2 separate regions of the Homo sapiens genome follow, and region 1 is linked to region 2. Evidence: promoter capture Hi-C in 16 types of primary human blood cells and fetal thymus (Javierre and others, 2016). All regions are on one chromosome and are shown on one strand. The core of a region is centred on a gene start or on the middle of the fragment in contact, and the rest is flanking DNA. Distances in the headings are between cores, read along the strand shown. Region 1 holds the start of NAA30 (N-alpha-acetyltransferase 30, NatC catalytic subunit). Region 2 holds the start of SPTSSA (serine palmitoyltransferase small subunit A).

Evidence for each region. The method cuts DNA at HindIII sites, captures the fragments that hold promoters and counts their contacts. A CHiCAGO score of 5 or more calls a contact.
Region 1: a contact is called between a fragment that was not itself captured here and the fragment with the promoter of SPTSSA in region 2, in 1 of 17 cell types (activated CD4 T cells). The highest score is 6.1, in activated CD4 T cells.

The regions. Positions count from the first base shown.
Region 1 is chr14:57,384,992-57,391,247 of GRCh38, reverse strand. NAA30 (N-alpha-acetyltransferase 30, NatC catalytic subunit) reads right to left here and starts at 662. Exons shown (of 5, transcript NM_001011713.3): 1 at 543-662; 2 at 1-291. The coding sequence starts at 290. RefSeq lists silencers at 135-284, 415-554 and an enhancer at 1-678. The HindIII fragment of the contact is 1,551 bases long and covers 3,671-5,221 here.
Region 2 is chr14:34,458,869-34,464,957 of GRCh38, reverse strand. SPTSSA (serine palmitoyltransferase small subunit A) reads left to right here and starts at 2,718. Exons shown (of 2, transcript NM_138288.4): 1 at 2,718-2,862. The coding sequence starts at 2,751. RefSeq lists silencers at 2,196-2,705, 2,826-2,995 and enhancers at 1,905-2,855, 3,396-3,505, 5,866-6,089. The HindIII fragment of the contact is 5,560 bases long and covers 1-4,966 here.

The DNA of each region.
Region 1 (6,256 bases), core at 3,197-5,696, about 23 Mb before region 2:
GCCCGGAGGTGCCGCAGTTCGGGGCTAATCAATCCGTTGAGCTGCTGCTGCTCCTGCGGCGGCTGAGGGCAGCGGAGGCACGGATGCCCCTTGGCCGCCACCGTCGCCGACTCTCCGCCCGCCGGGCTCCTGCTGCCGCCGCCTTCGTGCTCTTCGTCGTCCTCCTCGTCCTCGCTGCAGCAGGCGAGGGCGGCCCCCGCCGGGAAGGGACAGCGGGGCTCGACCGCCGCCGGGGCCGGAGGTGCTGGTGGTGGGAGGAGGCTGCTAGGCCCAGGCGGTACCTCCGCCATCCTAGAAGCGACACAGACCGAGAGGGGAGGCCATGAAACCCGGCCGAGGAGCGCGGAGAACAGGGGGCGACGGATGGGGGGCGGCCGAGGTGGGGGGAACAAAGGCAGAAACCGTCCCTCACGGAGCTGCCCCCCAATTCCCCGCCACCCCCCCGCTCTTCAGCGCCGCCCAGCTGCTCAGCCGGCCACCGTCCCCGTCCGCCCGGGCCCACCCGCCAGCCCTGTCACTCGCGGCCCCTCCTCACGGCTCACCCCGCACGGGTCCCCGCCGCCGCTGCCGCCACTCCTCTTCCTCCGCCACCGCCGCCGCCTCCTTCGCAGCCGCGGCAGCCTCCACAGCCGCCAAGGTTCTCACTCAGCCGCCGTCGCCGTAAAGCGCCTCAGCTGTTAGGCCGGGTAAAGTTTCCTGGGCCTGGCTTTACGACACTTCCCTGCCTGCCGGCTGCCCGGGCCAAGAGAGAGGGGCGTGGAGGGAGGTGACCTGTGGAGGGGCGGGGACAAAGGTGTCTCCTGCGGGCTGCGGGGAAGGCCGCGTGCTAGTGGGTGGGGCTGTGGGGCCGGGAAGTTGCAGAGGGCTTTGGAGTCACAGGCTCCCAAACCCTCTTCCTCGGTTTGGGGGCGCCTCAACCTGCGGTGCTTGCCACGCGGGGCCGGGGAGGGATGGACCGGGCAGGCGCTCCCTGCTTAAAGTCTACCGCGCACTCCGAGCTGTAGCGAATCTCGCCAATTCGGGGCCTGTGGAACAAGCCGTTTACAAGTCACCTAAAAATGCCCTTTTAAAGCTGCACAGCGTTTAATGTTTGCCCTGACCAGGGGCAAGGAGGATGGGGGAGGAGCGATTAAAAATGGAGCAAATCAGAGAAGCCGACCGAAAAAGAAAGGAAGATTTGAGCTGTGAAAATATGGGGATGGCTGTCGAAACGTGGTGGTTTGCAGTGTGAATTAAGTTCAGCTGGCCCTTGCCACTTTGAGGCAAGGGAGTCAGCCCTCTTCCTCTCCCTCCTTACTCTGCTCCTCGCACCCAGTAAAATTGGAGGCAAAAGTGACTGACAGGTGTTGGGCAATTGCTAGCACACCTGGGGAAGGGTTAGAGAGAGGTGGTGAAAGAGAGTGACCAGGGCTAAGAAGCACACTCCTAAACTTGTGACACAAATAGGTTAGGAAGCACTGGTAAACAGGTGGCCTGATCCTCCCAGGGGATCTGCCTATCGAGTGCAAAGGGGATAGAACTTGAGCTTGTGGCTGGGCGCCTTCTGCTCTAGTCCACAATTGACTCCCGGCAGGTCTGAGCTGAGACAGGTAGTGTAACTCACCCGCTCACTGAACAAATTCGGTTTTGTTAAAAACCTGATTTATAGAGCTGGTCTGGTGTGCCGCAGATGGACGTTTTCAATATATAATTCTATGACGGAACACGTTTGCAACTTTTTGCCGTAATCTAAACTCTATGTATAAAGTATTTATTATGCTCGCAGATTCTGTGCCTCTGAAATCCAGACAGAGCACAACTGGGATGGCTTTTCTCTACTCCATTATGCGTAGAGCTTCAGTTGGAAGACTCTAAGGCTGAGGAGTAGAATTATTTGAAAACTTCACTTTCACCGCTGATGGTTGATGCAGGATAAAGGCTGGAGGCCTCAGTTCTAGTCCATGTAGACCTCTCCCGGTGGTCTTTTAGCATTGATTGGTTTGGGCTTTGTCACAGCCTGGTGGCTGGGTTCCACGGCAAGTATCGTGCGAGAAAGTCAATCAGAAGCATATTACCCATTATAACCTAGCCTTAGAAGTCATGTAGTCTCTAGCCAGGTGCGGTGCCTCACGCCTGTAATCCTGGCATTTTGGGAGGCCCAGGCGGGAGGATCTCTTGAGGCCAGGAGTTCGAGACCAGCCTGGCCAACACAGTGAAACCTCATCTCTGCCGAAAAATACAAAAATTAGCCGGGCGTGGTAGCTCATGCCTGTAGTCCCAGCTACTCAGGAGGCTGAGGAGAATCACTTGAACCCGGGAGGCGGAGGTTGCAGTAAGCCGAGATTGCGCCACTGCACTCCAGCCTGGGCAACACAGGGAGACTCCCTCTCATCAAAAAGAAACAAAAAACAAGTTATGTAGTGTCAGTTCTGCTGCATTGTATCTAGGCAGACACAAAATTATATCCAGTTTTGACAGGAGGGGAAATAGACTCTACTCTTGGTGGAGAGAGGCAAGGTTCTCAAAGAGCATATGGGACCAGAAATATTGCTGTGGCCATTTTCAGAATGTATAACTTGCTACAGATACATTGAAAACCTCCTAAACACCTTGATGTGTGGGGGATATAAATGAGATGTATAAGTACAGCGTGATCCCTTTTCTGTCTTTTAAAAAGCACAAAACAAAACCATGTTTCCAAATGTGCATACATTGTTTAAAGATACATGTTTTTCAAAGTTTCTAAGTGTAACCTGGGTAGTCAGCCAATGAAACAATGATCTGTTCAAATCATGGTGGAAAAACTGGCCCAAGAGGCACCAGATAATTCCATAAGAGATGTTTAAGGGTGAATTTTACTTAGAAAAATACCTCTCAGTAATTTACTTTTAAATGTAAGCCCTTCCTAAAAAGCATGTACCTTCACTGTAGTGAATGAATGGCAGCAGGCCTTCCTGTTCTTTCTGTGTTGCAACTTGGCATTGAGCTCTGTCACACTGAGGAGCTGACCAGATGTTGTCTCAAAGTGGTTTTCAGAAAGTCAAGAGTTGTAAGGACCTTCTTGAGGCCAGGGAGTAAATGTTAGTCACTTTGTATTCACATATCAAACACATAAAAGGGAAATTGTTAAGCTTTTTGACTGAAGTACACCAGTCTCTCATTCAGTAACCTAGAATGCTTATAATGACAAAGTAAATTCTGACCTCCTCAATAACTAGTGGGGTAATTCTAATGTCTCAGCCCCAGTGATTTTTCTTTATATCCCAGTATTAAAATTACAATGTTGGCCTTCTAAATCAGATGACATCTCTAAAAAAAATTGCCTTTATAACTTATGAAATCTTTTCTATTTGATTCATGTTTACTTGATAGGATGATAGCACTATTTTAGGCATAGAAATAGGATTAGTTCACTCTAATGCTTTAGACATATTTACTATTATGAGACTCTGAAAAAACAACTACCTCCATGAGCAATACTTCATAGGAAAGAATGGGCTCAGAGCAAGGTGAGTGTAGCAGTGATACTCTTCTGTGTGGTTAGTTGATATTTTCATTGTTTTGTAATATCCTATGAAGCAACAGCCATTTTTTCTTTTCTTTTTTTTTCTTTTTTTTTTTTTTTTACTATTGTTGTTCTCTTTTGAGGAAGAAGAGAACATGCCTTAATTTTTTAGAAGAAAAAAAAGCTTCTCATTAAATCAATTAAAATAACCAATAGCAATTTTAAAACAACATCCTGAAGCAATTTATTGAAATCAGCTTGGAAGGAGAAAAATTTCTATTTAATTCTTTCTAACAGTGAGGCATTTTTCTCTTATTGGCTAGGTTTAGAGAGAAAACCTAGCTGTGTACCTACCTGAAAGGTAACTGTGGGAATGAATAATGGAAAGATGCTTTAAGTTCCCTTGACACAGCAGGATGACATTGTTATGTGCCATAGGCACACATACTAAATAATTTAAATATTTGTGTAGTTTTATTTTACATGTCATGTGGTTCTTAATCCCACTAATCCTATCTATTATACATAAAGCCCTGAAAATGAATGTCCTTAACTTTGTTTCATCTTGAATGAAAGAAAGAACATACATCAAATTTGAGAGCTGAAGAACTTAACCAAAGGATGAATATTAGTATATTGTTGTATTACCTGTAATCTTAGAACACTCTGAGATGCCCAGGTAAAAGACTAACAATTTGATTCTTCCCTTCGAATTTGGGGAATGACAGTCTGTTCTTTAAACTTCTTTCCCCTTGCCAGTAGTGGATGGCAGTACCAATTGTAGGTAGGCATCAATTTTGTTTGTAGAACTGAGGCCTCAGAGGACTATGAAGAACCAGAGAGGGTTGTGGTCAAATGGTCCCCATTTCCATTATTTTCAACCTCACACTAACTCTTCATGACCTGCCTGAAGACATGGTCAGGGTGATTCTCACAGATACACCTGGGCTGGTGAGACATGTTGGAGAGAATCATATATTCCTACATATTAGAGCCAAAAAATTTTTGGTCTCTAATTTAGCTATGCCTTCAGCTGTCTAGAATTGTTTTAACCTGTCTCCAAGGCCAGCTTCATCCAACAGCAACTGTCCTCAACCACTACTTGCTTCACACTCTCAGCAGATAACCCTGCCTCCATTTCACTAAGAAAAGTGAACTATTTCATAGGTGTGCCTTCTACTGCCATACCTATAAGTTCATCTGTATCTGAACTTACCCTTACCTCCTCCCTCCCAGTCTTAAGAGGGTGGAAGATGGATCAATTCTTCATGACTAATACCTCCCTCTACCTGTGGGCTTGATGCTTTCTCTTTCAGGCTCCTTTAGAACCTGTCCCATCATTGTTTCTCTCTCCTGAATTTTCCATGTTACCTTTGCTAGCTACTGCCTCAAAGTTTATAAACATGCCCCATTTAGAGATTTCTCCCACTACCATCCTTTTCCTGCCTCCTTTTCACCACAAACTCCTAATCTGCAATAGGTATCCACTGTCTCTACTCAGGTGCAGGTTCACTCTTCATTGGTGGGTTGGCTTCAATCTCAGCCCTTCTTCAAACAACACTCTGGCAAAAAATCACCTGTTATGTCCTAACTAGACTCTTCCAGTTCTCACATCACTTTATTCCATCGTGGCATTTCATCCTGCTGTGTCCTTCCAGAAACTCTTCCCTTGGCTTCTCCACTCTCTCTTGCCCTCCTTTGGACATTCTTTCTCAGTTGTTCTTGATAATAGAAGCTTTTAATAATAACAATAGCTACCATTTATTGTGGTCTTCCCATGTATTAAGCATGTTATAAATAATAGCTCATTTAGTTCTTATGATAACCCTATGAATTGGTGGTCAGAAGCCAGACCAGAATTGGATCACTGGCCTATTCCTGAGCCAGACACTGGAAAGGGGCTGGATTTACTCTTATGTCAATCAGGCCTGTCTGAGATTGAGTATGAGGTGAGCTTCTCCTGATGTATGTGGCTGGGGGATGAAGGAGTATCTAAGTAAAATTGGAGTTCAGATCCTGGCTCTGCCAATTACTGGCTGTGTGGTGTTGACAACTTAATGTGTCTGGGCTTCAGATTCCTCATATCGGATATGGATAATATTACATGCCTTGTAGGGTTTTGGAAGGGTAAAATGAATTATTATATGTAAAGTGTTTAATACAGAGAATATAGGAAGCCCCCGTAAATGTTAGCTGATCTCCCATCCCACCCATCCATCCTCAACATTTCTACCACTGCCACCCTTACAAAATACAAACCTATTTTGTCACTCCCTGGCTTAAATCTCTTCAGAGACTCCCATAGCCTAATAATCAAATCTAAACTTTGGTTAGGGTGCTTTGGCCACAAGCTCAATCTGGCTTTAAAAAAAAATAAGGAAATGAGACAGTCAGAGGCAGAGCGAGGTTCGGGATTAGTTGTTTCATGATATCATTGTGAACCCAAGTTTCTGTCTCTCTCCTTCCATTCACAGAATCAGCTCCATCCTAATGCTGATTTCCTTCATTGTTATAATATGGCTGCCAAAAGTGTTTGGGGCTAAGTGCTTCTTTATTCATGCCCAGTAAGAGGAAGGGAGAGGCTTTCAGTAACTCGCAGATTTACTTTTCCAGAAACCTCTAACCAACTTCTCTGGCTATGTTCTTGGTTAGAATATATCACATGCTATTTCTGAGTCAATCACTGGAAGGAGATTAAGAGTGAGGTGAGCTTCCTTGGAGGTGTATGGGTGTGTGGAAAAGGGATGTATACTAAACAAAATTGGGTTTGTG
Region 2 (6,089 bases), core at 1,469-3,968:
CAGGATCTCAGCCTCTTTTCCTCATTTCTAGTCAGTCACCAACTTTAGTGAGATGAGGTGGTAGAGCTGGTCTCCGAGAGACACGCAGTGGATTGGGAGCTACTAACAGTGAGGACAACCACCTGGCAGACATGGTGCTAGGGAGTGGACCCAGTAAAGGAAGGGTGGCTACGGGTGATGCTTCCAATCTTGGATGAATTTTATGTAGCATCACCAGATGCTGAGGGTAGTTGGAGTTCTCGAGGAAAAAGGAATGAGCTTGCCTGTGCCTGAACAGGAACAGGGACAGAAAGAAGTCCAAAACAGTTAAGTTTGAAAGTAGGAGGGCACGTGTACCTGCATCTCTGAGGGGTAAGGAGGTTTCAAGTATTTGTGGGTTCTACCTTTGTAATGTCTTCCCAACCTGTTTTTTCCCTCGGTAGCCTCCAGGCTACTACCCACACCCAAGTCTTGTTCCGAAAGCATTTTTTTTTTTTAAACGGAGTCTTGCTCTTGTTGCCCAGGCTGGAGTGCAATGGTGTGATCTCAGCTCACTACGACCTCCGCCTCCCGGGTTCAAGCGATTCTCCTGCCTCAGCCTCCCAAATAGTTGGGATTACAGGCACCCACCATCACGCCCGGCTAATTTTTTATATTTTTAGTAGAGACGGGGTTTCACCATGTTGGCCAGGCTGGTCTGGAACTCCTGACCTCATGTGATCCACCCGCCTTGGACTCCCAAAGTGCTGGGATTATAGGTGTGAGCCACCACACCCAGCCCTGAAAGAAAATCTTATTTAAGTTGTTGGCTCCAGTAACTTTTGGACATCAAGTTAAAAATTTCTTAGCTTCTCAAACAAGGTCCTTCAGAATATGGTCCCTGTTTGCTGTCTAGGCCCATCTCTTGCTACTGCATATACATTCTTTTTGCTCCAGCCACATGGAAGTTCTTCCAGTCTTCTAAAAACATCACAACTTCATCCTTAGAATGTCTGTCTCACCCTCTCTTCCCCAAGCTCATTCATTCTTCCATTTCTGCTTGTCCTTCAACACTCAGTTCAAGCACCATTTCTCAGAAGACTTTCACAAGCCCAATCTGATTTTGTCTGGGCTATCTTGGTATCCTAAAGGATACGATCCACAAAAATATCATTTACCACACCTCACTGTAATCCATTAACTTGCCTCTCTTCCCCAGCAGACTGGGTACTTTATGAAGGCAGGTCTCAGTCTATCTGGCTTGCTATCCCAATGTCTGGCACTTGATATTACTTACTGTTTTCTTTCTTTTCTTCTCTTCTCTTCTGTTTTCTCCTCTCTTTCTCTGTCTCCTTTCTTTCCTTTCTTTTGCTCTGCCACCTAAGATGGAGTGCAGTGGCACCATCCTGGCTCACTGCAACCTCGACCTCCCGTGCTCGAGCAATCCTCCCGCCTCAACCTCCTGAGTAGCTGGGACTACAGGTGCACGCCACCACCCCTGGCTAACTTTTTGTTATGTATTTACTTATTTTTTTTGGTAGAGACGGGGTTTCACCATGTTGCTCAGGCTGGTCTCGACCTTCTGGACTCAAGTGATCCGCCAGCCTCAGCCTCCCAAAGTGCTTGGATTACAGGCATGAGCTACGGCGCTTGGCCGGCACTTGGTACTTTTAATGAATAGTTATTAACCATGAAACTTTTAAAGTTTAAGCAGTAGTATGTTTAACCTGGAAGACTTTTAACATTTAAACAGCAGGCCATTTAATTGTGGCAGTTCACATGCTACACCAGTGCATGGAGCTCCTTGTGGCCAGTGCAATGTTGCTGGCCCATCTGGCAGTGGGAAAATCTGGGCATCCAGGAGTGCATCTCTAGGGAAGTATCACCAGCCCTCACACCAATCTCAAGCTGCCTGTCTTCTGCAGAACCCACTAGATCAGCGCGCTTCTGGCCTTGACCCACTTGGTGGTTACCTACAGCCACTAAGAGGTGGGCAGATAGATGTTTTTGGTAAGTGGTCTCTGGGTTAGGGAGTGCATGGGTTATGTCCGTCTAGGGGTGTGTGTGTGTGTGTGTGTGTGTGTGTGTGTGTGTGTGTGTGTGTGCATGGGTGGGGGAAGGGAGGAAGGAGGCCGAATGTGCATCCCTTCTACAAGGACGCCTTTCCAGACCTCCTTATTAGGTGGCGTTCGCCTCCTCACCCTCTCTCAGCCCCTTATCTCCTCTTACACGGATCACGACTTGATTAATGCTTGTCTCCCAGCTAGGCCGCCAGCTGCACAAGGTAAGGAACCGAAGGCATTCCGGTTCTCCCTGGCAATCCTCCTTCTCAGAAGGATGCCTGAGGCATAACAAGTGTTCCAGAAATATTTCTTCCGCAAGCGCTCTGGGCCAGTCTGGACGGACCGAGCGCCCGCTGGGCTGCGGGGGCCCCGGGACCCCGGCCGGCACTGACGCCCCGCCCACCACCGGCCGGCCCGGGCGGGGTGGGGCGCGGCTGGGCGCTCTCGCGGGGACCGTTCTCCGGCTAGCGTGGGCGATGCCCGGGCGGGGAAACGGGAGGGGACGACGCGACGCGAGGTAGCGGCCTGGCCAATGAGCGCGGGTCGGGCGGGGCTGGGGGCCGGCGGCCGGGGCGCGCGCGGGTCTGGGCGTGCCGCGGGTGACGGCGGGGCCGGGCGGGCCAATGGGCGCTGGGTGGCGGGCGGGCGGGCCTGGCGGCCGGGGGCTTTAGGACGTGAGCGGGCGGCCGGCCGGACAGACTGACGTGTGAGCTGCATCGCGGGAGGCGCATGGCGGGGATGGCGCTGGCGCGGGCCTGGAAGCAGATGTCCTGGTTCTACTACCAGTACCTGCTGGTCACGGCGCTCTACATGCTGGAGCCCTGGGAGCGGACGGTGTTCAGTATCCTGTCCCGGCCGCGCGCGCGGGGGCCGGGCTGGGGGCGCGGGCCGCGGGGCCGCATTTCCCCAGGCCCCGGGCCTGGGGTGGAGGCTGGAGCGGCGGCCCCGCCGGTCCTGTGCGCGGAAGCCGGGGGTGCAGGGGGAGGTCTGGGGGCCGAGGGCGGCGCTCGCGGGGTTAAGTGGGGGGTGGGGGAGACGAGAACTCTTGAGATCCGGGGTCACCTGTGAGTCGCTGGACCCAAGGGGGAAGCGTCTTGATTCCTGGAGGAAATCTCCGAAGGTGATGTGTAACCCTGTGTGTCGCCTGCACTTCGGCCGCAACTGCCTTTGGTTCAGTCCCCTGTTCCTGTAGGAGGCGGGGATCATGTAACAGTGGAGCACATCGCTCCCGGCTTGGACGCCTTTGACCTTTAAGTGTTCCTGATTTAGTTGGCTTTGGGTCTACCAAGAATTCTAGTCAGTTAACTAGCTTTTAAGCCAGGTTCTGAATTTGTAGGCATGACACTCCAGTAGTTTTTGAAAGCAGTTTAAGTTATTGTATCTTTTTGGTCTTCAAGTTGGGGAGTTTTAAAAGTGTATTTATTGCTTCTGTGCACCGTCCGTAGAAGTCGGCCCGAAAAGTGGTGCAATTTGTGGTTAGTTGTCGGTAGGGTTTGAAACTGTGTTTTGGTGGATAGTTAATAAATTCTTGTTAATGACTATTGAGTGGTTACTATAAGCAAAGCATTTGTGCAAAGCACGTTGTCTGTATCTTAACTCATCTAACTTTGAGAACTTCAGTTAATAACTCAGGGTTGTGAAGATAGGCTCCCTGAAAGTCTGATGTTTCTTGTCTCTGCTTGTCCATATTGACATCCTTTGATGATATTCTTGCAGATTAAATACTGATAATGAATGAGATGTAACTTTTAAAAAACTCAGGCCAATACAAAACAGGTATTTCACAAAACATGTTTAGTTTATCCACGTTCTCTCCTTTTCAGTGTGGTTTAGTTGGAGTAGCTTACTTCAGAATAACTTTGCGAATGCATTGTTGCATTCCAGTGAGTGACTGAGGTAATTTCATTCTAAGCCTTATCAAGTGTGTTTATTTGTTTTGAGATAGCTTAAGGTTGTACTCAAAGCTGAGTCTTTTGTTTAAGCACTTTTGAGGAATTTGAGATGCTTTCAAAGCAGTTTATTTATTTATTACTGTTGGCATTTCTTTCCAAACCTGGAATTTAAGAACCAGAATGCATATTTTGGATTTAGACTCTGAATATAGTTTGCTTTGATTTCCTGCACCATTTATTTGTAGCTGCAGTTTAGTCTCACTCTTTAGGGCTCGCAAGGTCATGCCTTGTAAAATATATACTTGAATGCATATTTAATAGAAGTCTCTCAGTAGAAGCAAGTATATCTTGACTGACATAACACATCCTAAAATTAATTTAAACAATGCTGGGTTAAAATGAAACTCTTTAAATCAGAGGTTGAATGTAGAGTGCACTATTAGAATCTAGTATAGATTTGACACCTAAAATCTAATATAGATTTTACACACTAAAATGCTACAGTTATCAATGATGTTAAGATTTTTCTGTTATGTTGCAATAGTGATAGTGTCCTATAAATAACTAGGTGATGCCTTTTTTGGGGGATGGAGAAATAAATTATGAAATGAAATATAGTGCCTTAGTAGATATTTGCCTTTAATGTTTTTGAGTTACCATGGTTTAGCGACAAGTAGTTTCAATTTTTTTTTCAAATAGGTGAGAACTGCAACCAACTGACATCCAATATTATAGAACCTTATGATTTTAAACTTAAGATAAAAAAATCTTATTTCAAATTTCACGTTATTGAATTAACTCAGGTTAGAAATGCAATTGTTTGACATAAGCCAGTCTTGAATTACTATCAGCTGTTGTATTTATATTTTTCCACTTCAACTTCTAGAATCATTTAAAACTATCTGATAGTTTGGAACATCAATTTGAGATTGAATCCTCATTTTAGCTTGGTGGAAAGAACTGAATGAGAAAACTGGATTTTTTTCCCTACTTGTCAGGAGGCTTACTCTGAAGTAGTTTGAATTTCATAAATCCATTAATGATTAGTAAGCTTCACCCAGAACTAATCTGTGGCCAGCTACAGGCTTTTGGAAAGAGGCATACTTTCTACAGCTTAAACATTACATTCAACTTAATCATCAATCCTAGAAACCTAAAATTTAGAGAAATTTGCCTCTGCCTGTCTGAAAATTTGTCTCTGAGTTAGAAGTCCTGAACAGAGGAAGACTTCAGATTGATTTCTTTTCTTTGTGTGTGTGTGTGTGAGACAGTGTTTTGTTCTTGTTGCCCGGCTGGAGTGTAATGTCGCCATCTTGGCTCACTGCAACCTCCGCCTCCCAGGTTCAAGCGATTCTCCTGCCTCAGCCTCCAGAATAGCCGGGATTACAGGTGCCTGCCACCACGCCTGGCTAATTTTTGTATTTTTAGTAGAGATGGGGTTTCGCCATGTTGGCCAGGCTGGTCTCGAACTCCTGACCTCAAGTGATCTGCCCACTGCAGCCTCCCAAAATGCTGGGATTACAGGCATGAGCTACCACGCCTGGCCAGATTAATTTTCTTCTTTTTCTTTTTCTTTTTTTTTTTTTGAGACGGTGTCTCGCTCTGTTGCCGAGGCTGGAGTGTGGTGGTGCAATCTTGGCTCACTGCAACTTTGCATCCCGGATTCAAGCGATTCTCCTGCCTCAGCCTTCTGAGGTAGCTGGGATTACAGGTGCCCACCACCACGCCCAGCTAATTTTTGTATTTTTAATAGAGGCGGAGTTGGGGGTGGGGTGGGGGTGGGGTGGTTTTACCATGTTGGCCAGTCTGGTCTCAAACTCCTGACCTCAAGTGATCCGCCTGCCTTGGCCTCCCAAAAGTGCTGGGATTACAGGTGTGAGCCACCGCGCCTGGCCCAGATTAATTTCTTAAAGAGGATAGATGCATTAGTTTACATTTCCTGCTATATAATGCATTTTTAAAAATTTGAAGTTGTGGGCCGAGTGTGGTGGTGGACGCCTGAAATCCCACTAGTCGGGAGGCTGAGGCAGGAGAATCGCTTGAACCCGGGAGGCGGAGGTTGCAGTGAGCCGAGATCACGCCACTGCACTCTAGCCTCAGTGACAGAGTGAGACTCCGTCTCAAAAAAAAAAAAAAAAAAGTTGTAATTTCAGGGGAAATTGATAACGTACTATCA